Regions from separate parts of the Homo sapiens genome. Here all the other regions are linked to region 1. The links are contacts of gene promoters, found by promoter capture Hi-C in blood cells and fetal thymus (Javierre and others, 2016). All regions are on one chromosome and are shown on one strand. Each heading gives the region's core, a stretch centred on a gene start or on the middle of the fragment in contact. The rest is flanking DNA. Distances are from core to core; before and after follow the strand shown. Region 1 holds the start of PRDX3 (peroxiredoxin 3). Region 2 has its middle 63 kb from the start of RGS10. Region 3 has its middle 81 kb from the start of RGS10.

Region 1 (3,694 bases), core at 682-3,181:
CTTTTATGGATAAATAATATTCCATTGTGAACTACAGTATTTTTTTTTTTTTTTTTGAGACGGAGTTTCAATCTTGTTGCTGAGGCTGGAGTGCACTGGTTCAATTTCGGCTCACTGCAACCTCTGCCTCCCAGGTTAAAGTGATTCTCCTGCCTCAGCCTCCCAAGTGGCTGAGATTACAGGTATGCACCACCATGCCCAGCTAATTTTGCAATTTTTAGTAGAGAAAGGGTTTCACCATGTTGGTCAGGCTGGTCTTGAACTCCTTACCTCAGGTGATCCACTCACCTCAGCTTCCCAAAGTGCTGGGATTACAGATGTGAGCCACTGCGCCCGGCCTACAGTACGATTTTGAGCTCCAAAATGATTGTCTCCTTTTCAATCATCTGCTAAACACAGACATAATTAAAACCAATTAAACAAACACAAGGAAGGTGTGAGGTGAAATAGTCGAAACGTGTGTCCCCACACATCCAAGGCAGTCCTTTCCACATCTGGGGACTGGTACCCAGGGTGGCGCCTAGTGGTACCTGAGATGATTTTAGAAAATATACTGGGCTGGGTGTGGTGGCTCACGCCTGTAATCCCAGCACTTTGGGAGGCCAAGGTGGGAGGATCACCTGATGTCAGGAGTTCAAGACCAGCCTAGCCAATATGGTGAAACCCCATCTCTACTAAAAATACTAAAAAAATTAGCCGGGTTTAGTGGTGCACGCCTGTAATCCCAGCTACTCGAGAGGCTGAGCCAGAAGAATCGCTCGAACCAAGGAGGTAGAGGTTGCAGTGAGCCGAGATTGTGCCACTGCACTCTAGCCTGGACGACAGAGTGAGACTCTGTCTCAAAAAAGAAAAGGAAAAAAAAAAAAGAAAGCCAATTTAAAGAAAATAGTAAGTGATATTTGGTGATAAGAAGACTTGAGAAACGAAGTTGCTAATTGAATGACTAGTGATTGGAAAATACCAACTCAGACCGGGTGCAGTGGCTCATGCCTATCATCCCAGCACTTTGGGAGGCCGAGGTGGGCGGATCACTTGAGGTCAGGAGTTTGAGACCAGCCTGGCCAACATGGTGAAACCCCATCTCTACTTAAAATACAAAAACTTAACTGGGCATGGTGGCAGGCGGCTGTAATCCCAGCTGCTCAGGAATCCCAATTACTCATGAAGCTCAGGCAGGAGAATCGCTTGAACCCGGGAGGCAGAGGTTGCAGTGAGCCAAGATCATGCCACTGCACTCCAGCCTGGGCGACAGAGCAAGACCCAGTCTCAAAAAAAAAAAAAAAGAAAAGAAAAGAAAAGAGAAAAGAAAATACCAGCTCCAAGACTGCAATTTGTCACACTTACTGTAAGGCCACGGTGTGATTTTTATCTATGTTTGATGTGGTTGCTTCAAGTACTATGCTCACCACTGAACACTTGGCTTCATTAATAGACAAAAACCAAATTTTAAATTTGTCCCAGTTTTCCCAATTTTGGGAAGAGAGGCCAAATGTTAGACCACACACAATTCCAGCGGATTTCAGGCCAACAAAGCCTTGATGTGTCTAGCCCACTTAGCTTATTAACGGACTAAAACTGCATTTGTAATTAATTCCATTTCATACAGAAGCCGGAAGTCTCTACCTGAGGCTGAAATAAGAAAGGGATCCTGTCACAGAAATACTAGACACAGTAATCCACACAAGGTTAACAAAACAGTGGGAAATATGGAAACAAATACCTAATGCCCCGCCTGGATTCGTTCTTTTAAGGTTGGGGCGACAGTAGGAAAACCACGTGTCACTTGCCCAAGCATTCAGCCTTAAAGGGAATTTCTCCCTCAGGGTCTCCAGGAGGCGGGGAGGCGGTGGCTCCTCCGGCCCCGCCCCCCCACCAGCAGAGGGCCCGCTCACCACCCCGTAGGCCCCGCCCCTGCGTCTCTGCCCGCCCCGTGGCGCCCGAGTGCACTGAAGATGGCGGCTGCTGTAGGACGGTTGCTCCGAGCGTCGGTGAGTGGCTGTCGGCTGGGGACAGGCGTGGAGACACTGGTGGCTCCGGGAACGTGCTTCTCAGACAGGACCCCGCGCTTCTGGGCATGAGGGCCATTCGCCCTTCTTGGAGGGTTTCCGCGGGTAACGGACCCAGAGGCCTCCCTCCGGGAAGGTTCCATGCGCCTGCGCAGAACCGCCCTTCCCCACTCCATCCTCGCGGTCTCTTCCCCGAGTCCCTCCTCTTTCGGCGTCCCCGGTCCCCAGGCCCATCTCCACTTAAGGTCCTGGCCCTGATTCTGCCACCGACCCTGTGATCTTGGGCAAGCGCCTTCGCCTTTCTCAGACTGTGTACTTAAGATGGAAAGAATGATGCCTACATCAAGGCGTTGCTGTGAACAGCCCCTTAAATACTGGATAAAAACGCGCAAAGTGCTAAAAAACTCACAAAGGCTTTCCCTCCCAATCCCACTCCCGCGTGTTTCTGCTGCTGTTTCCTGCTTAACTGTGGGCAATGCGTCGTGCTCTTTTGGTACACGGCTTTCTCTGGTGGGGTTCAACACAGCCCCTTTCGTTCTCCTGAGTCATTTTGAACATTAAAGTTGAGCAAACCGGCAGAGTGCGGTGGCTCACGCCTGTAATCCTAGCACTTTGGGAGGCCGAGGCGGGCAGATCACTTGAGCCCAGGAGTTTGAGACCAGCCTGGACAATAATAGTGAGACCTTGTCTCTAAAAAAAAAAATAGCCGGGCATGGTGGTCAGTGCTCCTGGGGAGGCTAAGGTGGGAGGATCACTTGAGCCCAGGAGGTCGAGACTGCAGCGAGCCGAGATCGCGCCACTGCACTCTAGCCTGGGTAAAAGAGCGAGACTCTGTTTCAAAAAAAAAAAAAAAAAGTTGAGTAAACATGTCCCTTGAGCCTTTAACAGACTCCCAGAGGCTGAATTTGGCTCTTCTTGTTTACTTGTCGCTGGTGCTGGAGGGGCCTTGTTTTTCTAAGGAAAACCTTGAAATGGTAGAACATACTCAGCAGATAGTGCTGGGAAAAGCCTGCACAAGTCCCCTGGCTTCTGAACCCTGTGTTGCTTTAAGCGCATGGAGTTTCTGATTTTTTTTTTTTTTTTTTTTGAGACGGAGTTGTCGCCCAGGTTAGAGTGCAATGGCGCGATCTCGGCTCTGCAACCTCTGCCTCCCGGGTTCAAGCAATTCTCCTGCCTCAGCCTCCCAAGCAGCTGGAATTACAGGTGCCCGCCACCGCCGCCTGGCTAAGTTTTGTGTTTTTAGTAGAGATGGAGTTTCACCATCTTGGCCAGGCTGGTCTCGAACTCCTGACCTGGTGATCAACCCGTCTTGGCCTCCCAAAGTGCTGGGATTACAGGTGTGAGCAACCGCGCCCAGCCGGTCTTTGTGTTCTTATAGTTCCTCTCCACCTTCCAGTCTCCTAGGAGAAGGAAGCAGAAGGGAGTGTTAAGAACATGCAGATCCAATCCATGCTCTTAGAGTTTGGGGTTTGCTATTTGGTTCACAGGAACAGGGACAGCTGAAACCACCGTTGGCACGATGCCCTTTCAGCCTTCAGTCACCAGTCCAGGAAAACTTTCTAATAAAAAGTTTCTCTTTCCAGGTTGCCCGACATGTGAGTGCCATTCCTTGGGGCATTTCTGCCACTGCAGCCCTCAGGCCTGCTGCATGTGGAAGAACGAGCTTGACAAATTTATTGTGTTCTGGT
Region 2 (3,694 bases), core at 694-3,193, 300 kb before region 1:
GGAATTCAGACATCACCGGGGATTGGACTAGCTGGACCCTGAGGCTTCCTTCAGCTCTGAGAGTCTGTGCATTTACGTTTTGGAAGATGCTTCTCAAGAAAGATAGGAAATCGGGTGGGTGCGGTGGCTCACACCTGTAATCTCGGCAGTTTGGGAGGCCGAGGCAGGTGGATCACCTGAGGTCAGGAGTTCGAGGCCATACTGGCCAACATAGTGAAACCCCATCTCTACTAAAAATACAAAAATTAGCCAAGCGTAGTGGTAGGCACCTGTAATCTCAGCTACTCGGGAGGCTGAGGCAGGAGAATCGCTTGAACCTGGGAGGTGGAGGTTGCAGTGAGCCAATGTCACGCCACTGCACTCCAGCCCTGGGCAATGAGAGCAAAACTCCGTCTCAAAAAAAAAAAAAAAAAGAAAGAAAATAGGAACTCAAATCTTCATTTTCACCCGGAGGGAAGGTAGGAAACAAGCTTGAAAGGAAGATCCAGGAGAGAAAAAAATACTCAAAAAGGCACGATTTGTTTTGACACTTGCATGGGTTTTAAGTTTGAACCCAGGAGAGCTTTGAGGACAACATTAAATGAAACAATGGCAGTGGGGTAATAAGTATTAGTCTGCGAGCCTTCCTCTGTTACCAGCTGCCTTTGAAAACCCCGTCATTGCCAGCTGGCTTACATCATCTCCGCCCATGGAAAAAATGCCAGGCAAAGCTACATGATACAGGAAGGGGCAGAAGAGGGAAGGGAGAAGTGAAGGGGGTGCCAGGGTGGCTGCCAGGGTGAGAGACATGGATAGGAGAGAAATGAGGATTTTAATAGGCTCCCAAACCAGGTACAATGTCTCACACCTGTAATCCCAGCACTTTGGGAGTCTGAGGTGAGAGGATTGCTTGAGCCCAAGAGTTTGAGACCAGCCTGGGCAACAGTGTGAGACCCCCATCTCTACAAAAAATAAAAAATTAGCTGGGCATGAAGGCACATGCCTCTAGTCCCAGTTACTTGGGAGGCTAAGTAGTGGGAGGATTGTCTGAGCCTGGGAGTTTGAGGCTGCAGTGAGCCATGATTACACCACTGCACTCCAGCCTGGATGACAAAGTGAGACCCTGTCTTTTAAAAATAAAAATAAAGGCCAAGCGCAGTGGCTTACACCTATAATCCCAACACTTTGGGAGGCCGAGGTGGGTGGATCACTTGAGGTCAGGAGTTCGAAACCAGCCTGGCCAACATGGTGAAACCCTGTCTCTACTAAAAATACAAAAAATTAGCTGGGTGTGGTGGCACATGCCTGTAATCCCAGCTACTCAGGAGGCTGAGGCAAGAGAATTGCTTGAACCCAGGAGGCAGAGGTTGCAGTGAGCTGAGATTGCACCACTGCACTCCAGCCTGGGCAACAGAGTGACTCCTTCTAAAATAAAATAAAATAAAATAAAATAAAATAAAATAAAATAAAATAAAATAAAAATGCATTAAAAATAAAAAAATTAATAAATTATTAGAACTTGGTGTTGGGCTCTCCTTCAGAGTGCTGGGGAAACAGAAGAAAAACACACTGGACTGTGCTTCTCCAGCTGCACAATGGCTCGAGACTGGACCATGTGGGTGCTGGAGAATGTAAGAGTTACTTCATTGATCCTTGGGCTTCATGAGGAGAGAGGCCTGGGGAATTGCCACTGGGGAGGAGTTAATGCTCGCTGCTGTAGGAGGTGGGGTTAAGAGGCTTCTTCTTCCCGTGATTTACCTTAGGAATGGCACTGTCCTTGTGGCTGCAATTCCTGAGGCTCTTCCTTAATGACGACCCCCACTGTGTAGATCACAAAGACTTTCCCTTCCAAGTGGCCTCCCGCCAGCCTCACAGCAAGTCTAGAAATACACACACCAGGATCAACATGCCCATTAAGCAGATGGAAAAAGTACGACTCAGAGGCATCATGTGACAGCTACATCAGGAACACGGTGGCATCTGAGCTCACTTTATCTGACGATGAATCGGGCACCACTGCTTGCCCCATGGATGCCAGGCTCTGTCCATCTGAACTTGGATCAGATTGAACTCGGAGTTGGTTTGGCTTCACTGTTCCCAGAGCAGCTCTCAAGTAACTTTGGCACTCGGGCTGAGTTGTCACTCTGGTTTCTTTCCGTGACTTTCTTTGCTTGTTGTCGGCACTTTTAAAAGACCTATTGAATTGTTTGTGAAAATGAGCGACAGTACATTTGCCAAAGCATCATGTGGGTGGCGGCATTCTGCTATCTATTCTGCACACCAAAGCAATGATGCTGCTAATTACATCTGTCCCGTCTGGCTGTACCCGTCTGCCTCTCTGCCTGGCTCAGCACTGTGACTGTTTATGGTGTTCCCAGCTTAGACGTGAGAGGGAGGAGGGCCAGGGAGTCAAGGGCTGTATCCTCTCCACGGTGTTCACACAGAGCCAGGAAAGGCTGCTGTGGCTGAAGTTCTGATTTCTCGTTTTTTTCAGTTGTTGATGGGAGTTGGGGTAGAAAGGGAGGAAGATGTTGCTCCTTGGAAGCAAATGGCATGGGGAAGACACCCTGAATTACAACTGAGAAATGAAACCTCTACAGTTTAACTTGCAGCAAGTTCAAAGGATGTGTTAGGAAAAATTGCAGGTGCTGGTTCTGTGGTATTTGGGGTTTAGATGAAAAAAATAAGTAAACAAACTAACTTCATAGCTCATCTGAAAGAGGGCCTGGCTCAGAGATCATCACTTCCCACAAGAACCCCCTTCTATGGGTCCAAAGGAGGCAAGGATGATGGAAGGAGACAGAGGGAGGGAGAGGGGAAAATCACATCTATTTTTTGGAAGAACGTCAAAGGGAACTCAATAAAGACCCATCCCGTTCACCCAGCTTTCTCTATAGAAACAGAGCTGAGGACTGGATCTGCTATTACATCAGAGATGGGGCAGGAGGAAATAATTTTCTGATGTTCCAGTTTTGCTCAAGTTCAGGCTGTAGAAACCACAGTTTCTTAAGAGGTGGAACCGGTTCACTGGACTTTTTTTTTTTTTTTTCTGTGATGTAGGAAGAAAGGTTCCAAGATGCTACAAACCCTGCAACACTTACTTTAAGTATCCCAGAGGTCTGGAGTGGGAGGAGGCTGGCTGACCTCTTTACTTCTTCAGTTCAGATGCTTAGGGACAGAGGTCATGTGACACCTGTTCCTCTCCCCCCGCCACGCCCCTGCCACACACACAGAGAGACCTGCAGTGAGCAGGGGGCTCTGATGCCCGGTCCTGTGACCTTTCCTCTGCACCTTTGGGTCTATGTAGATTGCAATTTCCTGCTCACCCTCTCTGGGGCATCCCCTGCAGTGCTGACTTCTTTAACCGTTGGCTGGTGTGGCCAAGCGTGCAGCACACAGGCTGTCCTGCCCTGAGCTATGATTCTACATGAAGCTTTCCAGTGACCTCCCTTTCTGCCATTTATTCTGTGTCCTGCAGAATAGCTTTGATTCACAATGAGTGACACGGATCTATAGGAATCTGGAATCTGTGGCAAAGAACAACAGGACAGGGTACGGCATCAAAGGTTAAAAGGGCTGGAGGTGCCTTTTTGAGACGGTTTAAGGAATGGGCTAGATCTATGGCATTGTAGGGAGAAGTGCAAGCCCTCTGTCATCATCAAGGTATCATGACCATCTCCAAAGTGTGTAGGATGAAGCCACCTATAGGAAAGGT
Region 3 (3,694 bases), core at 548-3,047, 280 kb before region 1:
CTGTAATCCCAGCTACTCTGGAGGCTGAAGTGGAAAGATTGCTTGAGCCCAGGAGTCAGAGGCTGCAGTGAGCTATGATTGCACCACTGCACTCCAGCCTGGGTGACAGAGTAAGACCCTGTCTCATAAAACAAAACAAAACAACAACAAAAAGCCAAAACGAGAGATTCTCCTCACATTTTTGTTTTCCAGGAAAACAACATGCTGCAAAAAACCACCTTTCCCCATATGACTTTGTATTAGTCTGTTCTCACATTGCTAATAAAGACATACCTGAGACTGGGTAATTTGTAAAGGAAAGAGGTTCAATAGACTCACAGTTCCACATAGCTGGGGAGGCCTCACAACCATGGTGGAAGGCAAGGAGGAGCAAAGGCACATCTTACATGGTGGCAGGCAAGAGAGAGTGTGTGCAGCAGAACTCCCCTTTATAAAACCAACAGATCTCATGAGACTTATTCACTATCACTAGAACAGCATGGGGAAGACCCGCCCCCATGATTCAATTACCTCCCACTGGGTCCCTCCCACAACATGTGGGAATTATGGGAATTACAATTCGAGATTTGGGTGGGGACACAGACAACCACATCAGACTTCCATAAGGCCGAGGGATGTCCCCCTTATTTATCTATGAAAGGCCAGACACAGACCCTCCAAATTCCCATTCTTTGCCTCATAAATGATTAGCTGAACGGCCTGTTCCCACTGATCCATGGAAACAAAATGCTTGCTAGCCAGACTTGGGTAAGTTTCACTCCTTCTTCCTGGACTCTGAACTTTGACCAACTCAGCCTGAGCCTGCAGGCAGCCCCTCCAGAGCAGAGGCTGCCTCAGGGTGACATTTTCTGATCTATTTATCTAATCACATCACCCTTTCATCCCACTTTCCACACCTGGCTCTTTCTAGCCTTGTTCTTTCTACAAAAGAGATCATCTTTTCGCCTAACCCTCAAGACCCTTGCAGATGGCATGGTCAAGCCTTCTGCGTTTTGCAGTGCTCTCCATCCCAGCCCCTGTTGCAGTAGCCCCTTTCCTCCCTTGCAAAAATCTTTCAAATAGTTCTCTCCCCACTGAGTCTGGATTTGTGTTTTATTTGACGTGTGCTTGCAAAGTCAAATCTACAAGACAAGGCACATTTCTGAGCAGACTGGCTTTTATATCTGTCTCTCACTCTCCTCCCCTGGTGGCTTCCCTCTCCCTGTAGGTAACTTTTTTCCTTTTTTTGGTTTATCTTTTCATTAAAAATATGACAGTAGGATTCTATGTCGTATCCTCTTTCCTTTTGTTTAAGAACAGTGGTAGCCAATTGTACCCACCTGCTTCCATTTGCAGGTAAGAGCCTCACTCTCTTCAGCCCTCTGTGACTCTGAAAAGCCATCGGCAGGAAGATCAGTGGCTGCTTTGCCCTAAGCGTCCTCAATGAGATGAAAGCGCTTTGTAAACCAGTGGGCCTCAAACTGGAGTGTGCACCCCAGTCACCTGGGGGTCCTGTTCATAGGTCCCACCCAGACTCCTAACTCAATAGGCTTGGCACGGGGAGCAGGAACCTGGATCTCTCAGAAGTTCACAGGGCTGCTGCTGCAGCCTGTAGTGGTGAGGGTGTCAGACTTTGAAAACTACTGGTATCAGTTCCCCTCAAGGGCAGGGCAAATGTTGGTGAGTATTAATAAAACTTCTGTACCATAGAATACAGGACCTGGTTTGACTATAGACCCAGCCTGCCATTCCGGTTTGGGGCTTTCTTTCTTTCTTTTTTTTTTTTTGGGACAGAGTCTCACTCTGTCACCCAGGCTGGAATGCAGTGGCACAATCTCAGCTCACTGCAATCTCCACCTCCAGGGTTCAAGGGATTCTCCTGCCTCAGCTTCCCAAGTAGCTGGGATTACAGGTGCATGTCACCACACCCAGCTAATTTTTATAGTTTTAGTAGAGTTGGGATTCCACTATGTTGGCCAGGCTTGTCCCAAACTCCTGACCTCAGGTGATCCACCCACCTAAGTCTCCCAAAGTGCTGGGATTAGGTGTGAGAAATGGTGCCCAGCCAGGTTTGGGGCTTTCTAAGGCCTCTCTGCTCAAAGTGTTGTCTGAGGACCAGTGGCTTCGCCCAGGAGCACTCAGAAGCACGGGCTGTGCCCTACCCCACACCCACTGAATCAGATTCTAGTTTATCAAGATTCCAAATGAGTCAGAACTCCTGAAGCATGAGAGGTGCTGACCCAAGCCTTCTGCGCCTTGTGGTTTACCTGCCAGTAGTTGATGCCCCTAGAGTGCAAACTCTAGATCTCACCCCATGGCCTGCTGAATGGGCTTTTCCTGCTCTCTCCCCCAAGATAGCCAAGCCAAGGCCCCATGACAACTGGCCCAGGCCTGGGCAATGTTTGGCTTGGCAAACTGCTGGGCAAAGTGGTACCAGGAGCCCTGCCATGCTGTGGCTCAAGGGTCTGTTCCCAGGGCCCCAGCTCTCCCTCCTCTTCACGGTCTCTGGATATGGCAGGTGGATCCTAACAGCTTTAAGGACTGCCTCCCACAGGGGTTGTGGCCTGGAGCTCTCTGGGGCCCAGGGATGCTGGCTTTGAGCCTTTCCTGAAAATGAGTTAGATGGAGGCTCTTTTGGTCCCCTCACCAAATCCACGGTTGTCTGGTGTGGACAGGACGGGCACAGGCCTGAAAGGTGTGGAGGAGGTAAGAGGTGGGTACTCCTCCTGCCCAGCCCAGCCCATCTGCCTGGGAAGGGGCCAAAGCTGCTGGGCAGGGCAGTGTAAATGGTGAGGGGGGCCGGAGCTGTGGGGCTGGAGTTTCTCCCACTGATACCCTACCTGTCCCAGGAGAGACGGCAGCTTCTGTCTGCCTGGAGGCTGGCTCGGACAGTGGAGTTTCTGGAGTGGTGAAAGCCCCAGAGACAGAGCTGGGCCCTGCGGGGAGGTCCTCCCCATCCCTGTTCTGAGATCAGAGCATTTCCTGCCCCACCCCTGCATCTTCTGCCCTTGAGGGCTACCCGCCTGGTCGGCAAATCCTCGGCCATGAGTACCCCCATTCTTCCATCCTGGGAGAGCCCCTTCCTCATCCCACCCTCATTGCCAGCCGGCCCCTCTTTCTCTCTGTCCAATTCCACAGGGTCCCCCAGTAAGCAGATTCTTCCCCAGGCTCCAGGCCTGGCTGGAGTGTGGCTCCAGGCAGGGCTGGGTGTGAATGGGTGTGAGGTCAAGGCCAGGCCCCTGCTCAAAGCCAAGGCCTCTGTGCTGGGTGGCCCATGAGTTCCCACTGAATCCTCCAGCAGCCACATCACTGAGGTGTGATCTCATTTACAGATGAAGACACCGAGGCTCAGAGTGGCCTGTTTAAGGTCATATATCATCAATAGGGTGTTGGCTGAGTCCCAGCCCTGCTCATTCTATTTATTTATTTATTTTTAAAATTTATTTTTACCTTTATTTTTAAAACAAACATCTCAGAGTAAGCCCTGCTCATTCTAACAGCTAAGGCAAGCAGGTCGAGGGAGACAGAAGAGGTCTTGGGTCCCAGATCGGGAATCCCAGTTCTGAGGTGCAAGGGCCGCTGTGCCTCACTGGCTACCCCACGTTCCAGCATGTGCCTGGCATGGCGAAGCCTGGACAGCCAGAAAGGCTCCCTCTGCAGAGCCCGCCTCTTCTGTATAAGACCGGGCAGGTGGGACCTGCAAATGCGCCGTTTG

The links. Contacts are between HindIII fragments. The CHiCAGO score rates a contact against its expected background, and 5 or more counts as called.
Region 2: a contact is called between a fragment that was not itself captured here and the fragment with the promoter of PRDX3 in region 1, in 6 of 17 cell types (naive CD8 T cells, M1 macrophages, endothelial precursors and 3 more). The highest score is 7.7, in naive CD8 T cells.
Region 3: a contact is called between a fragment that was not itself captured here and the fragment with the promoter of PRDX3 in region 1, in 6 of 17 cell types (total B cells, endothelial precursors, total CD4 T cells and 3 more). The highest score is 8.1, in total B cells.

Annotation. Positions count from the first base shown.
Region 1 is chr10:119,177,049-119,180,742 of GRCh38, reverse strand. It overlaps PRDX3 (peroxiredoxin 3), which reads left to right and starts at 1,931. Exons shown (of 7, transcript NM_006793.5): 1 at 1,931-1,988; 2 at 3,590-3,694. The coding sequence starts at 1,953. RefSeq lists a silencer at 1,789-1,898 and enhancers at 1,929-2,408, 2,408-3,052. The HindIII fragment of the contact is 12,445 bases long and covers 1-3,694 here.
Region 2 is chr10:119,477,872-119,481,565 of GRCh38, reverse strand. No RefSeq gene overlaps it. Among named protein-coding and RNA genes, the nearest start is that of RGS10, 63 kb to the left of the region's middle. RefSeq lists enhancers at 1,494-2,073, 3,423-3,492. The HindIII fragment of the contact is 2,942 bases long and covers 473-3,414 here.
Region 3 is chr10:119,460,079-119,463,772 of GRCh38, reverse strand. No RefSeq gene overlaps it. Among named protein-coding and RNA genes, the nearest start is that of RGS10, 81 kb to the left of the region's middle. RefSeq lists an enhancer at 1,312-1,561. The HindIII fragment of the contact is 4,863 bases long and covers 1-3,694 here.